2 separate regions of the Homo sapiens genome follow, and region 1 is linked to region 2. The links are contacts of gene promoters, found by promoter capture Hi-C in human tissues and cell types (Jung and others, 2019). All regions are on one chromosome and are shown on one strand. Each heading gives the region's core, a stretch centred on a gene start or on the middle of the fragment in contact. The rest is flanking DNA. Distances are from core to core; before and after follow the strand shown.

Evidence for each region. The method cuts DNA at HindIII sites, captures the fragments that hold promoters and counts their contacts. A contact is called where the count stands out against the background at its distance.
Region 1: the fragment with the promoter of NCR1 here is called in contact with the fragment with the promoter of LILRA2 in region 2 in 1 of the 25 tissues and cell types used here (adrenal gland).

The regions. Positions count from the first base shown.
Region 1 is chr19:54,904,880-54,912,282 of GRCh38, forward strand. It overlaps NCR1 (natural cytotoxicity triggering receptor 1), which reads left to right and starts at 1,269. Exons shown (of 7, transcript NM_004829.7): 1 at 1,269-1,342; 2 at 1,420-1,455; 3 at 1,644-1,928; 4 at 4,366-4,644; 5 at 5,139-5,186; 6 at 7,289-7,339. The coding sequence starts at 1,309. The HindIII fragment of the contact is 21,719 bases long and covers 1-7,403 here.
Region 2 is chr19:54,567,789-54,575,095 of GRCh38, forward strand. LILRA2 (leukocyte immunoglobulin like receptor A2) reads left to right here and starts at 6,002. Exons shown (of 8, transcript NM_001130917.3): 1 at 6,002-6,124; 2 at 6,288-6,323; 3 at 6,513-6,794; 4 at 6,943-7,245. The coding sequence starts at 6,091. It overlaps LOC107985347 (a long non-coding RNA gene), which reads right to left and starts at 5,040. Exons shown (of 2, transcript XR_002958419.2): 1 at 4,948-5,040; 2 at 1,603-3,505. LOC105372461 (a long non-coding RNA gene) reads left to right here. Exons shown (of 3, transcript XR_936073.3): 3 at 3,630-3,924. The HindIII fragment of the contact is 16,909 bases long and covers 1-7,307 here.

The DNA.
Region 1 (7,403 bases), core at 19-2,518, 330 kb after region 2:
CTAGCTGCATCCATGTTGCTGCAAAGGACATAATCTTGTGATTTTTCAAGGCTGTATAGCGTTCTGTGGTGTATACATATCACATTGTCTTTATCCAGTCCACCTCTGATGGGACCTGGGTGGATTCCATGTCTTCACTATTGTGAATCCTGCTGCAATGAACATACAAGTGCATGTGTCTTTTTGGTAGAATGATTTATTTTCCTTTGGCTATATACCCAGCGATGGGATTGCTGGGCTGAATGGTAACTCTGTTTGTAGTTCTCTGAAATATCTCCAAACCAAACTGCTTTCCACAGTGGCTGAACTAATTTACACCCACCAACAGTGTATAAGTGTCCCCTTTGCTCCACAATCTCACCAGCATCTGTTAATTTCTGGCTTTTCAGTAATGGCCATTCTGACTGGTGTGAGATGGTATTGTTGAGGGATAATTTAGGAATCAGAGAGACCGAGGGGTTGAGGAGGATTTATTATTATTATTATTATTTAGGTGCACCGGCCCCAGTCAGATTAACATCCAAAAAGACTGAGGCTCGAACAGAGAGTCCGGTTACCTTTTAAGCATTTTGTGGGGTTGGGGGAGATCTGTGCAGGGGGAAGCATATTACAGAAGCAAGAAACAAAGGCAGTTATTCAATTGAGACATGCATCACATTATTCCTTACTTTTCAAGAAAAATATGTTTTACGACTTGAGGTTATCCTGTCTAGTGACCTTGCAGCCGCACGGCAAGAGAAACAGGGTCTTCACAATGCCTGGGAAAGGGAGAGATAAGGCTCACTAGCCACAGACAGAAAAACAGGCAGTTCATGTTTAAAGGACTCCACCTCTTTCTCTTCCTCGGGGGGAACTGGGTTTTCTTAAATACAACTGAGTTTTTGTTTACACATTCTGTAATTTCTTTTAATTCCTGTTCCAGTATCTCACTGTGAAACTCCCTATGTTTTTATACGATTCTCAGGGGGTTTCCTCTGGGCATGATTGGGCACAACTTCCCACAGTCAGCTCTGGGTACGACCTCCACATTGCAGAATTGAGAAGTTGACCCAGAAATGCATTTTGGGCTGAGCAGACAATTGTCAGAGTTGCTGGCTAGACCACAGATGTGTCAGAGGGACCACGGCCTTTCTGTAAGCTCATGGTCAGAGGCGGAGGGGAGTTGTGAACGTTCTGATGAAAGCAGTCAACGTGAAAGCGCTCTGGTGATGGGCGCTGGTGCTCACCCACCACTTCCTGTGTATCTATCTCCCTGGCCCGCCCGGCTCAGTCCCCACTGCTCAGCACTAGGCCGGCAGAATCTGAGCGATGTCTTCCACACTCCCTGCCCTGCTCTGCGTCGGTGAGTTCTGGCGTGGAAGGGGAATGGGATCACGGTGTGCCTGGGAGGCAACAGGTCTCATTACTCCCGTCTTCCAGGGCTGTGTCTGAGTCAGAGGATCAGCGCCCAGCAGCGTGAGTCCTTCCTTCAAAGCCCAGGGTCACTCTTCCGGATTCAGGCCAAGCTCCTTCCACCCAAGCACGGCTGGGGTGAGGGGACAGGGTGCTGGCTTCCCAGGAGAGCTTGGGGCCAGCAGCTGGGTGGAGCCTAAGGTTGGGGGGAGGGGGCTCCGCTGGAACTCCAGCCTCTGATTCCCTTCCAGAGACTCTCCCAAAACCGTTCATCTGGGCCGAGCCCCATTTCATGGTTCCAAAGGAAAAGCAAGTGACCATCTGTTGCCAGGGAAATTATGGGGCTGTTGAATACCAGCTGCACTTTGAAGGAAGCCTTTTTGCCGTGGACAGACCAAAACCCCCTGAGCGGATTAACAAAGTCCAATTCTACATCCCGGACATGAACTCCCGCATGGCAGGGCAATACAGCTGCATCTATCGGGTTGGGGAGCTCTGGTCAGAGCCCAGCAACTTGCTGGATCTGGTGGTAACAGGTAACTGTCCGGTTCTCTAACTGGAGAGTGATCTCAGTCTGCATCCGGGATGCAGCATCATCTATGAACTCTTCCAAGCCCCACTCAGACACTGCTTGTCTCGGTAGGAGGCTGGAAGGAGGGGTGATCCCCATCACAATCCTTGCCTACAAGGGGTTGTCTGCAGACCGTGTCTCTACGTCCTAGGAGCAGATGTGTCCTCAGTCAGTTTCTCCATGACACAGATTCTGAGATAGATATTTGTATGCAGGGGTATGACTGAGGAATGTCCTCAAAAACAATGCCTGTGGGCCAGGCGCAGTGGCTTACACTTTGCTTCCCTCACCCATCACAGGTGGTGGGTTTTTTTTTTTTTTATCTGTTTTGAGACGGAGTTTCGCTCTTGTCACCCAGGCTGGAGTGCAGTGGTGCAATCTCCAGTCACTGCAACCTCCACCTCCTGGGTTCAAGTGATTCTCCAGCCTCAGCTTCCCAAGTAGCTGGGATCACAGGCACCCACCACTACGCCACATTTTGTATTTTTAGTAGAGATGGGGTTTCACCATGTTGGCCAGGGTGGTGTCGAACTCCTGACCTCAGATGATCCGCCCGCCTCACCCTCCCAAAGTGCTGGGATTACAGGTGTGAGCCATCACACCCAGCCAGGTGGTGGTTTTCTAAAAAAAAAAAAAAATTAGCTTTTTTTTTTTTTTAACAATATGGTTGTTTATTATTATTATCAAGTATTATACATAGTTACATATACATACATAATTGTATGTGCTATACAATTAGGTTTGTTTATACCAGCAACACCAAAAACACATGAGCAATACTTTGTGCTAGGAAGGCTATGATGTCATCAGGCAATAGGAATTTTTCAGTTTCATTATAATCTTATGGGACCACCATCATATATGTGGTACATTGTTGGCCAAAATGTCATTATGCAGCTCACAACAGTATTTCATGTCCATTCAAATATCTTCTTTTGTGAAATGTCTATTTAAATCTTTTGCCTATTTTTAAATTGGGTTGCTTATATTTTGATTGATTAGGAAAAGTTATTTCTATATTCTGTGTCATATACTTGTGTTGAAATATATATATTTTTTGTCTGTGCCTTTTCATTTGCTCAGGGTCTTTGGACCTTGTTTGGAGGTTCTGGCAGGGGAACACAGCTACTCATTTATTCTTTTTTTTTTAATTTTTTTAGTATTTATTGATCATTCTTGGGTGTTTCTCGGAGAGGGGGATTTGGCAGGGTCATAGGACAATAGTGGAGAGAAGGTCAGCAGATAAACATGTGAACAAAGGTCTCTGGCTTTCCTAGGCAGAGGTCCCTGCGGCCTTCCGCAGTGTTTGTGTCCCTGGGTACTTGAGATTAGGGAGTGGTGATGACTCTTAAGGAGCATGCTGCCTTCAAGCATCTGTTTAACAAAGCACATCTTGCACCGCCCTTAATCCATTTAACCCTGAGTGGACACAGCACATGTTTCAGAGAGCACGGGGTTGGGGGTAAGGTCATAGATTAACAGCATCCCAAAGCAGAAGAATTTGTCTTAGTACAGAACAAAATGGAGTCTCCTATGTCTACTTCTTTCTACACAGACACAGTAACAATCTGATCTCTCTTTCTTTTCCCCACATTTCCCCTTTTTCTATTCGACAAAACCGCCATCGTCATCATGGCCCGTTCTCAATGAGCTGTTGGGTACACCTCCCAGACGGGGTGGCGGCCGGGCAGAGGGGCTCCTCACTTCCCAGACGGGGCGGCCGGGCAGAGGCGCCCCCCCACCTCCCAGACGGGGCAGTGGCCGGGCGGGGGCTGCCCCCCAACCTCCCGGACGGGGCGGCTGGCCGGGGCTTTTTTTTTTTTTTTTGAGACAGTCTCGCTGCAGTGCAGTGGTACAATCTCAGCTCACTGCAACCTCTGCCTCAGCCTCAATTCTCCTGCCTCAGCCTCCCAAGTAGTTGAGATTACAGGCATGTGCCACCACACCCGGCTAATTTTTGCATTTTTAGTAGAGACGGGGTTTCACCATGTTGACCAGGCTGGTCTCAAACTCCTGACCCAGGAGGTCGAGGCTTCAGTAAGCAAAGATAGTGCCACGGCGCTCCAGCCTGGGAAACAGAGCAAGACCCTGTATCATTTTTAAAAATGGTTTTAGACGGTAAATCTTCTATTGTGTGTATTTGACCAAAATAATAATTAAAAAAAAAAAAAAAAGCTGGCTGCCAGGCATGGTGGCAGGCCCCTGTAGTCCCAGCTACTTGGGAGGGTGAGGCAGGAGAAACGCTTGAACCCGGGAGGCGGAGGTTGCAGTGAGCCAAGATCGTGTCACTGCACTCCAGCCTGGGCGACAGAGAGAGACTCCATCTCTAAAGAAAGAAAAAAAAAAATAGCTGGCTGCTCATCACTGAGTTTCTGGTGTGGTGGCCCCACCTTCTCTCATAGAAATGTATGACACACCCACCCTCTCGGTTCATCCTGGACCCGAAGTGATCTCGGGAGAGAAGGTGACCTTCTACTGCCGTCTAGACACTGCAACAAGCATGTTCTTACTGCTCAAGGAGGGAAGATCCAGCCACGTACAGCGCGGATACGGGAAGGTCCAGGCGGAGTTCCCCCTGGGCCCTGTGACCACAGCCCACAGAGGGACATACCGATGTTTTGGCTCCTATAACAACCATGCCTGGTCTTTCCCCAGTGAGCCAGTGAAGCTCCTGGTCACAGGTGAGGAAATGCTCAATTCCCCACACCCTTCGCCGCCATGTGCTACCTGGAGCCCTGAGGGATCCCCAGAGAGTGATGGGGAGGGTGTCCAAGGGACGTCCACTTCCTGGGTGCCTGGTTGGTCATGTGAGGAAGAACACCAGAAGCAGGAAGGAGGAGGGAACAGAGAAAGGAATGGTAAGGCGGGTGGATCACAAGGTCAGGAGTTCGAGACCAGCCTGGCCAAGACGGTGAAACCCCGTCTCTACTAAAAATACAGAAATTAGCCAGACGCAGTGGCGGACACCTGTAGTCCCAGCTACTCAGGAGGCTGAGGCAGGAGAATCGCTTGAACCCGGGAGGCGGGGGTTGTAGTGAACCGAGATCATACCACCGCACTGCAACCTGGGCGACAGAGCAAGACTCCATCTCAAAAAAAAAAAAAAAAAAAAAAGAATGGCAAGACCGGAGGAAACCAAAAACCCTTACTTTTTTTTCTTTATCTCCTTTTCCAGGCGACATTGAGAACACCAGCCTTGCACCTGAAGACCCCACCTTTCCTGGTGAGTAACTGGTCCTTCTAAGCTCAGACGAGCGATCAGAGCCTCCCAGTGACACTAAAAACGTGGCATTCATTCAAAATATTCATCGAGGCCAGGCGTGGTGGCTCACGCCTGTAATCCCAGCACTTTGGGAGGCCGAGATGGTGCATCATTTGAGGTCAGGAGTTTGAGACCAGCCTGGCCAACATGGCGAAACCCTGTCTCTACTAAAAATACAAAACTTAGGCTGGGCATCATGGCTCACACCTGTAATCCCAACACTTCGGGAGGCCAAGGTGGTTGGATCACAAGGTCAGGAATTCGAGACCAGCCTGACCAACATGGTGAAACCCCATCTCTACTAAAAATACAAAAATTAGCCGGGCCTGGTGGTGCTCGCCTGTAATCCCAGCTACTCAGGAGGCTGAGGCAGGAGAATTGTTGAACCTGGGATGCAGAGGTTGCAGTGAGCTGAGATCGCGCCACTGCATTCCACTCCACTGCACGACACAGCGAGACTCCATCTCACAGAAAAACAAAAACAAAACTATTATATATATATATTCATCAAGTGCATAGTATACACAGTGAACTACACTGTAACAGTCAGCCAGGCAGATATCTTGACTGTGCAGCACTTAGATTCTAGCAGGAGGAGACACACCATCGGTCAACGTCAGGATAGCACACAGGAGGGAATGATGCTATGGAAGGAAAAGACAAAGTAGAACAGACTTACAGTGATTGAAATGGCAGCTAGCAATATTAAATAGGTTTGTCCAGATGGACCTCACAGAGAAAGAAGGCATCTGAGCAAATGCGTTCAGACTTGAGTTAATCATGTGGCTGTCAGGAGAAAGGAGGCTCTGGAGAGAATGAAATGGCATCTGCCTGTGCCCTGGGGCAGGAAGATAACTGGGGTAATACAATAATAACTATGAGGCCAGGAGGGTTGAAAATGATGTTTGGAAGATGACGGTGGGATGGGCCTGGGGCGCACGGCTAGGATTACAGGAGTGAGGCCCGGCGCGGTGGCTCACGCCTGTAATCCCAGCACTTTGGGAAACCGAGGCAGGTGGATCATGAGGTCAGGAGATCAAGACCATCCTGGCTAACACGGTGAAACCCTGTCTCTACTAAAAAAAAATACAAAAATTATCCGGGCGTGGTGGCGGGCGCCTGTAGTCCCAGCTACGCAAGAGGCTGAGGCAGGAGAATGGCGTGAACCCGGGAGACGGAGCTTGCAGTGAGCTGAGATCGCGCCACTGCACTCCAGCCTGGGCGACAGAGTGAGACTCCGTCTCAAAAAAAAAGAAAAAGAAAAAGAAAAAGAAAAAAAAATAGTGAGACTTTGAATTTCACTATGTGTGAGGAGAAAGAGGTAATGATGACTTAATGAGGAAAATGAGGCTTAAATAGAAGACGGGCTGGGCCGGGTGGCTCCTGCATGTAATCCCAGCACTTTGGAAGGCAGGGGCGGCTGGATCACTTGAGGTCAGGAGTTCAAGACCAGCCTGGCCAACACAGTGAAACCCCATCTCTACTAAAAATACAAACATGAGTTGGGTGTGGTGGCGCACGCCAGTAATTACAGCTACTCGGGGCTGAAGCAAGAGGATTGCTTGAACTCGGGAGGCGGAGGTTGCAGTGAGCTGAGATCACACCACTGTACTCCAGCCTCAGAGGCCTGCCATCCCAGCCCTTTGGGAGGCCGAAGCAGGCAGGTCATCTGAGGTTGGGAGTTCAAGACCAGCCTGGCCAACATGGCAAAACCCCGTTTCTACTAAAAATATGAAAAAAATTACCTGGGTATGTGGTGTGTGCCTGTAGTCCCAGCTACTCCAGAGGCTGGAACACAGTGAGACTCTATCTCAAAAAAAAAAAAAATAGAAGACATGACTGGTGCAAAGACACATGCTCACAAGTGCTAGAATGGAATTCCTCGTCAGGTTCGTCCATCTGTGGACCCTTCCACTTTACCTGCTGGATGAAGCTCCTGGGACCCGCAGGGTGAGGTGGGACCTTGTAAAGCTGCAGAACGTCATGGGGTAGACCCAAGGGAAGGAGTGCTGGGGTGGAGGAGGTCAAAACCATCCTCTTTTCTTCACTTCCCTTATCATCAGCAGACACTTGGGGCACCTACCTTTTAACCACAGAGACGGGACTCCAGAAAGGTAAGTAGACAGCTGGGGCCATAGGCTCTGAAGGAAGGGGCTGGGCATAGAGTAGACCTAGGAA
Region 2 (7,307 bases), core at 4,752-7,251:
AAGAAACATCTCTGAAATTCTTGGAGAAACCACATGGAAATAAGATATCAGATGAGGACCCTGATGTCTAAGAACTGAGATGAAGGAGGAGGCAATGAGTCTGGATGTGTTTCTTCCCAACCTTGGGGTCTTGCCTCCTGAATGTTATTCTTTTTCTATTCTGAGAACTTTGTACAAAAGGCTGCCTGGAAGGGAGAAGAAAAGAATCAAGTTGGAACAAATTGTCTCTGTGATAGAAATGAACTTGGCAGGAGTGGAGAAACTTTTATTCCCTGTTTCCATAGGCACATGTGAAGTATCTGATCTGTGTCAAACATGGTGTATGAGATGTCTCAGAATAAAGGACATGAAAACTTCCAAAGAGCCTGCCTGTATTAAGTCAATATTGTAGTCAAGAAAAGTGGACATTACACACAATAAATAATAGATAGAGTATGCATTGTGTTAAAAGATAATAAGTGCATTGTGAGAAGGAAAAGAAGTAATGTGCTCCACAGAATAGTAAAAAATTTTGCAAGCAGGTTGTTTGGCTGACTGGAGCTGAAACTCTTCCCCAAGTCTTCAGGCTGTTTGTCCTGCAGATTTTGGACTCACCAAGTGCCAACAATTACATGAACCCATTCCTAGATAGCAAGATAAGTAGATATAGATATGCACATATGTACATATATCGGTTCTGTTTCTCTGGAGAACACTTACAAATACATAATTTGATCATAGGAATGATTCTAGATGAACTGAATCTTAATATGTTTTGTCTACTGTTTCTGAGGTTTATGGAACTGGCTGTCTGATTAGATTTAAAGACATTAAGACAGTATGACAGAAACAGAAAGAGAAAGAAAGAGAAAGGAAGAAAGGAAGGAAGGAAGAAGGAAGGAAGGAAGTCTGTGATAGTCCGTGGCATGATGTGGCATTAGGGGTACACCACTAGATGCTCCTAATCCTACACTTATAAGGAACGAGAATCTGGGTGGCCTTGCATACACCTTTGAAGATTGTTGTCAAACTATTAAGTATAGTATGTGTGGCTGTTTTGTCATTGGATAAAGAGGTAAAGAAAAAGATGAGCCCAGAGATTAGAATTTCCAGTTCAAGCACCACTACATAAATATCTGAGGTTTCTATGTGTGCCCTGAAAGAGACTCTTATCATCTGTAGCTGTAGGGGTGAGATTGCTGAAAATCAAACCGAGAATCTCATCCTTGAAGTGGCTGTATTACAATTCAAGCGGAGTCCCCAGCCTCACAGGGTATCTACTGTTCAAGTAATGCCATTGGTCAGGAATGGGTGAGATCTTGAAAGATGGAATGAGGATGTATATTAAGACCCTGATACAGCTGAGGATATCAAGCCCCTAACTTTGAATGAGTCTTCTTTGCCAATAGAAGCATCCTCTCTATCTGCAAGGGAGGAGATTAACCCTGTACTGTCTGAGGAAACAATACTGGCCTCCCCTGAGGCAGTTGCCATGCAAGGCTATGCTGATTCTCCTTAGGATACATCCTGACCAACCCTCTTTGCTTCTAGACCTATAACTAGATTCAAGTCTCGCAGGCCCTGAAAAGTGTGTTACAAAGTGTGGCTCATGAGAAGTTGTGCTACACTCCAAAGTAATTTATTTATTTTTCTAATTTATCCATACAGAAGTCTGAGGAACACGTGTCAGAGTGGATATTAAGGGTTTAGGATAATGGTGAAAAGAACATAAAGTTGAGTCGGACCGAATTTATATATATAAGCTCACTAAACAGAGATTGCACATTTAATGTTGCATCTTGGAGAACCGGAAATGATTCTACCAGTTTGTCTGGTTGATTGGCTGAAACATGGAGCAAAAGCTGGCCTGCAGTAAATAAACTCAAAATGCCAGACATGCCTTGGTTTGCTGCAGAGGAATTAACTTAAAGGCTTAGGAAGACTGTAATGTTACCATGCATGTATCAAACCTAGTAACCCACATTGGAAGCATCAGAAGATGTATCTTTCAACAATATTGCAAAGGGAGCTCTGGCATCCTTGAGGAGCTCTGTGATTTCTCTTCTCTGGAAGCTGGAACCTACAGTGGAACTGCTGAATTTTAAAAAATCTAAATGTAATGGGAGTAATTTGGCCCCTACCTCTTGGCCCCCAGAGAGACAGGGGCCAAGTAGAGGAACTCAGCCACCAAAGGCAAGGTGGGTTTGGTTACCATGATGGACAGCAAAGTCAAACCAGCGATCGGAATAGTCCCGCAGACTTATGGTGTTGGCTAGTTGATCACGGCATTCTAACAAGGGAGATAGATAGGAAACCTACTAAATTCTCACTTGATCTGTATAAGCAGAAAATTTCTATGTCAAGTGAACAAAAGTCAACCCAAATCATAAAAGCAGAGAGCCACAGTCTCTCAATCAATGGCTAGCACTGAGTCAGTTCATAGAGCCAGAATCCCCTGAATTAAAGGGATCCCAGGCAGGGTTCCCGTGAGGGCACTGTCCCTGGTACACTACCAAGAATATATACTCTTAATCTTTCTCCTGGACTTTGGTTAAAGGGACCTGCAGCCTTTTACAATGGCAATGGAGCCTTGGGGAAAATAATCAGATAATTTGGGCATTACTGGAAATGGGGTATGAACTGACATTAATTCCAGGAGACCCGAAACGTCACTGTGGCCCTCCAGTCAGAGTAGTGGCTGCTAGAGGCAAGGTGATTGGTGGAGTTTGAGCTCACGTGTTCCATAGTGAATCCAGTGTATCCCTAAACCCACCCTGTGGCTGTATCCCCAGTTCCAGAGGGCAACATTGGAATAGACATATTCAACAACTATCACAACCCCCACAGTGGTTCCCTCACTTGTTGAGTGAGGGTTATTAGAGTGGGCCCAGTGGGAGCCACTAGAACTGCCTCTTCCCAGCTAAACTGTAAACCAAAAGCAGTCTTGCATTCCTGGAGGAATTCCATATATTGGGACTTGAAGCGTGCAGAGACAGTGATTCCCACAACCTTGCCATTCACCTCTCCTATTTTACCTCCACAGAAGACGCAGGGATCTTGGATAATGATATTAGATTATTGTAAGCTTAATCAGATCCAATTGAAGATGTTGTAACAGATGTGGTTTTGTAGTTTGAGCAAATTAATACATCCCCTGATACCCAGTATTCAGCCATTGATGTGTTAAATATTTTTTTCTCCATCACTGTTAATAAGAACCATCAGGAACAGTTTCCTTTCATTTGGCAAGGGCATCAGTACACCTTCACAGTCCTACCTCAGGGTCTGGGAAAGCACCTGGGGGTTGTGATCGGGGTCTCAGTGGCCTTCAGCTGGTGCTCTTCCTCCTCTTCTTTCTCCTCTGACACTGGCCTCAGGGCCAACACAGGACATTGGGTGAGTAGGAAGTTGGCGGGGAGACCCATGGGCTGACTGAAGGTGGGGTCAGGGCACCACCAACCAGACAGATTCCAGATGGGAAAGTTCAGCTCAGAAAAACGGCTCCAGCATTTCCCAGTGAGAAAACCTAGAAAGAAGAGAATAAATGTGAACATACATGAACATACCTTATTCTTTTGGTTGTTTCATCTAACGACGTTTTTAAAACATCTATGCAAGTGTGTTTTCAGCTTTCCTTCTTTTCTCTTGAGTTCTCTGTGCAGGGCAGGTGGCTCTCATGATCCCAAGGCTGAAGCTCTGTCCCTCTTCACCCAGCCCAGAGGGAGGCTGATTTCCAAAGTCCTGTGGGGACTGTGGAGTCAGAGAACGACAGAGGCCTGTGGAGGAGGTAATTCTGCCCGAAGACCCCAGACGCCCACCTACCCCCACAACCTCCTCACTGGCCCTCACACTCCCATGTCCTTCCCCGGGTCCAGCCCAGCTGCTGATGTCCAGGAAGAAAACTTCTGTGACAGGAAGAGGGGGGCACCTGAGGGTGGAGACAGAAGCCCCAAAGTTTCGGTAGCAATGATAGCAGGGGAAAAGGCTGAGAAGGGCTTGGGACTCTTTTATATAATATATAAATTAATATAAAAATTAATTCACCTTCACAATGTCTGTCTAATGCATTTCAACAACTGTCTGTGTTTTCCTCATGTATCTTGGTTGTCATTCCTGTGGGGCGGCTCCTCCCACGCACCTGACCTTTCATAAAGGGTTTCTCCCACGGCTGTCCAGGCATCAGCCTGATGAAGGGGATTGTTGCCGCTGCTCCTCCCCACTCCCCCAAACTCAGTGTCAGCTCAAGATTGTGCCCAGCAGGGATGGGACCAACGCCAGTCTCACACTCACCTGTGGGGCAGAGCAGACGCCCATGTCAGACCACCGTGGATTGAATCTGTTTCTCACACACAGGGGAGGGGCTGAGCACTGACCATGGCCTCCAGTGAGTGAGCAGAGACCCCCCAGCGCCTGTCCACACACACAGGGGAGGGGGAGCCACAGCTTCCAGCGTCACCCAGAGCCCTGACCCCTCCCTGCCTGGGAGGACGTGGGGTTCCTCTTCTGTCCCACACGGAGGTGGGAGCCTCCTCCTCCCTAATGACCCTGGGTGGTCCCAGACACCTGTGGCCACTCAGCATTGAACTCTGCTCATGGAAGGGGATGCGTCTCAATGTGAGGAACTGTTCTTCCTCTTTCTGTGCCCGTGGCTGTGATGATCTGCATATTTCAGATGTATCACAAGGAGAATTTCATGGTATTTGGAGCCGATGTGGGCTCTTGAGTGGGGGCGTCAATCATCCTCCTGGACTGTGGAGCCCAGCACCAGGATCCTCTCCCGTCCCCACCCTCCTGTCTGAACTGGTCTGGAAATTCACCATGGCTGAGCCTCCCATGTCCTGGGCACCACTGACCCCCACAGCCACTGTGATGAGTGGGGTTCACGACAGCAGGCTCAGAGGTGACATTCATGTCCAAAGTCACATAAACCCTGGATGATAATCAGGAATTAAATACAAATCAGCTCACCTTCCCCAGAATCAGATTACAGACCTAACAAATTCTTCTGAAAACTCTGAACATGGACGGAGGTGCCGAGGGAAGGCCAAGGACGCAAGGGACACTGAGGGGGCGGGACCGACTCAGAGCCTCATTCCCGGGGTGGGGGTGGGTGATGTTGCAACAAAGAGAAAAGGGGAAGTACAGGAGAGGGACGGTTTGGTAGGAAGGAAACACACACTCTCAAGACAGAACAAATATGTTTTATTATAGTTAATCCCTGCATTTCCCCTTTTGAGACAGGGTCTCACTCTGTCACTGAGGCTGGAATGCTAAGGGGTGATCATAGCTCCCTGCAGCCTCCGCCTCCCAGGCCGAAGTATTCCTCCCACCTCAGCCTCCTGAGTAGCTGGGACTAGAGATGTGAGCTGCCATGCCTGGCTAATTTTTTGCTTTTTTTATACAGACAAGGTCTTGCTATGTGGCCCAGGGTAATCTGAAGCTCCTGGCCTCTAGCCTTCACCCACCTCAGCCTCCTGAAGTGCTGGGATTCCAGGCATGAGCCACCATGGTAGACCCTGCATTACTCCTCTGTGCTCACTGCCACACGCAGCTCAACCTGAGCTACACAGCCAGGTGTCAGGTGCGTCTCTGCTGATCTGAGTCTAACTGCAGCATGGACCTGGGTTTTCCCTGAAGCATCTCCAGGGCTGGAGGGACGACCGCCATGGTAAGGACCCCGCAACGCTGAGCTGATGGACGGGCTGAAGGAGGGAGGGAGACCCCATGGGGAAGCTCTGAGAAGGAAGAGGAAGCCTCTGCTCACCCTCATCTGGAAGGGCAGACGCAGGAGGGCACCAGTTCTATTTGCTGCTACATCCCAGGTCTCAAGGAGATGAGGATAAACCAGACAGACAGTGGCTGGGGGGCAGGAAAGACCCCATTACAGTCTGAAATGTCTGCAGAGGGCCTGGTGCCTGCCCCCACCTCAGCCCTAAAGGTATGACAGCCAGGCTCCTGAGAGGGCAGTTGCACTTCCTGTGTGGTTGCACATAACAAAACCCCATGACAAGAAGGATCCAGCCTCCGAGTGTCCACACCCTGTGCGTCTCTCTGTCCTGCCAGCACTGAGGGCTCATCCATCCGCAGAGCAGGGCAGTGGGAGGAGACGCCATGACCCCCATCCTCACGGTCCTGATCTGTCTCGGTGAGATTTGAAGAGGGAGGGGAGCTTCTAACCTAGGAGGGACCTCACCCCACAGCCAAACTCTGGTCCCTAAGGAGACCCCAGGGGCTCACAAAGATCCCAGGGAGGGGAGGACCTGCCCAGGCTTCAGGGGAAAAATCCCTCACAGGGAACTCTCTTCCAGGGCTGAGTCTGGGCCCCAGGACCCACGTGCAGGCAGGTGAGTCTGTTCCCAGCTGTCCCAGGTCCCTCCTCCTCACTAGGGACAAGGGGCCACCCCCGTGCAGCTGGGGATGGGGAATAGCAGTTCTGGGCTGACTGATGGGGGTGTCTGGAGGGTCCTGCAGCTGAGAGCTGAGATCTGTTGGGTGGGAAATGACTTAGAATCCGACCTCTGATTTCCTTCCAGGGCACCTCCCCAAGCCCACCCTCTGGGCTGAGCCAGGCTCTGTGATCATCCAGGGAAGTCCTGTGACCCTCAGGTGTCAGGGGAGCCTTCAGGCTGAGGAGTACCATCTATATAGGGAAAACAAATCAGCATCCTGGGTTAGACGGATACAAGAGCCTGGGAAGAATGGCCAGTTCCCCATCCCATCCATCACCTGGGAACACGCAGGGCGGTATCACTGTCAGTACTACAGCCACAATCACTCATCAGAGTACAGTGACCCCCTGGAGCTGGTGGTGACAGGTGAGAGGACACTCAGGAGTCCCAGCCCCAGGCTCTGCCCTCAGGAAGGGGGTCGGCTCTCAGGGGCATCTCCGCTCTCACAGCTCAACCCTGGGGATGATGTGGGAGGTGGGAGCCCCATTTAACACAGTGCCTCCTTCTCTCCTAGGAGCCTACAGCAAACCCACCCTCTCAGCTCTGCCCAGCCCTGTGGTGACCTCAGGAGGGAACGTGACCCTCCAGTGTGTCTCACAGGTGGCATTTGACGGCTTCATTCTGTGTAAGGAAGGAGAAGATGAACACCCACAACGCCTGAACTCCCATTCCCATGCCCGTGGGTGGTCCTGGGCCATCTTCTCCGTGGGCCCCGTGAGCCCGAGTCGCAGGTGGTCGTACAGGTGCTATGCTTATGACTCGAACTCTCCCTATGTGTGGTCTCTACCCAGTGATCTCCTGGAGCTCCTGGTCCCAGGTGAGAAATTCACAGAATTGCTTGGAGTTCCCTGAGTCTCCCTGAGTCTCCAGGCAGGTGGG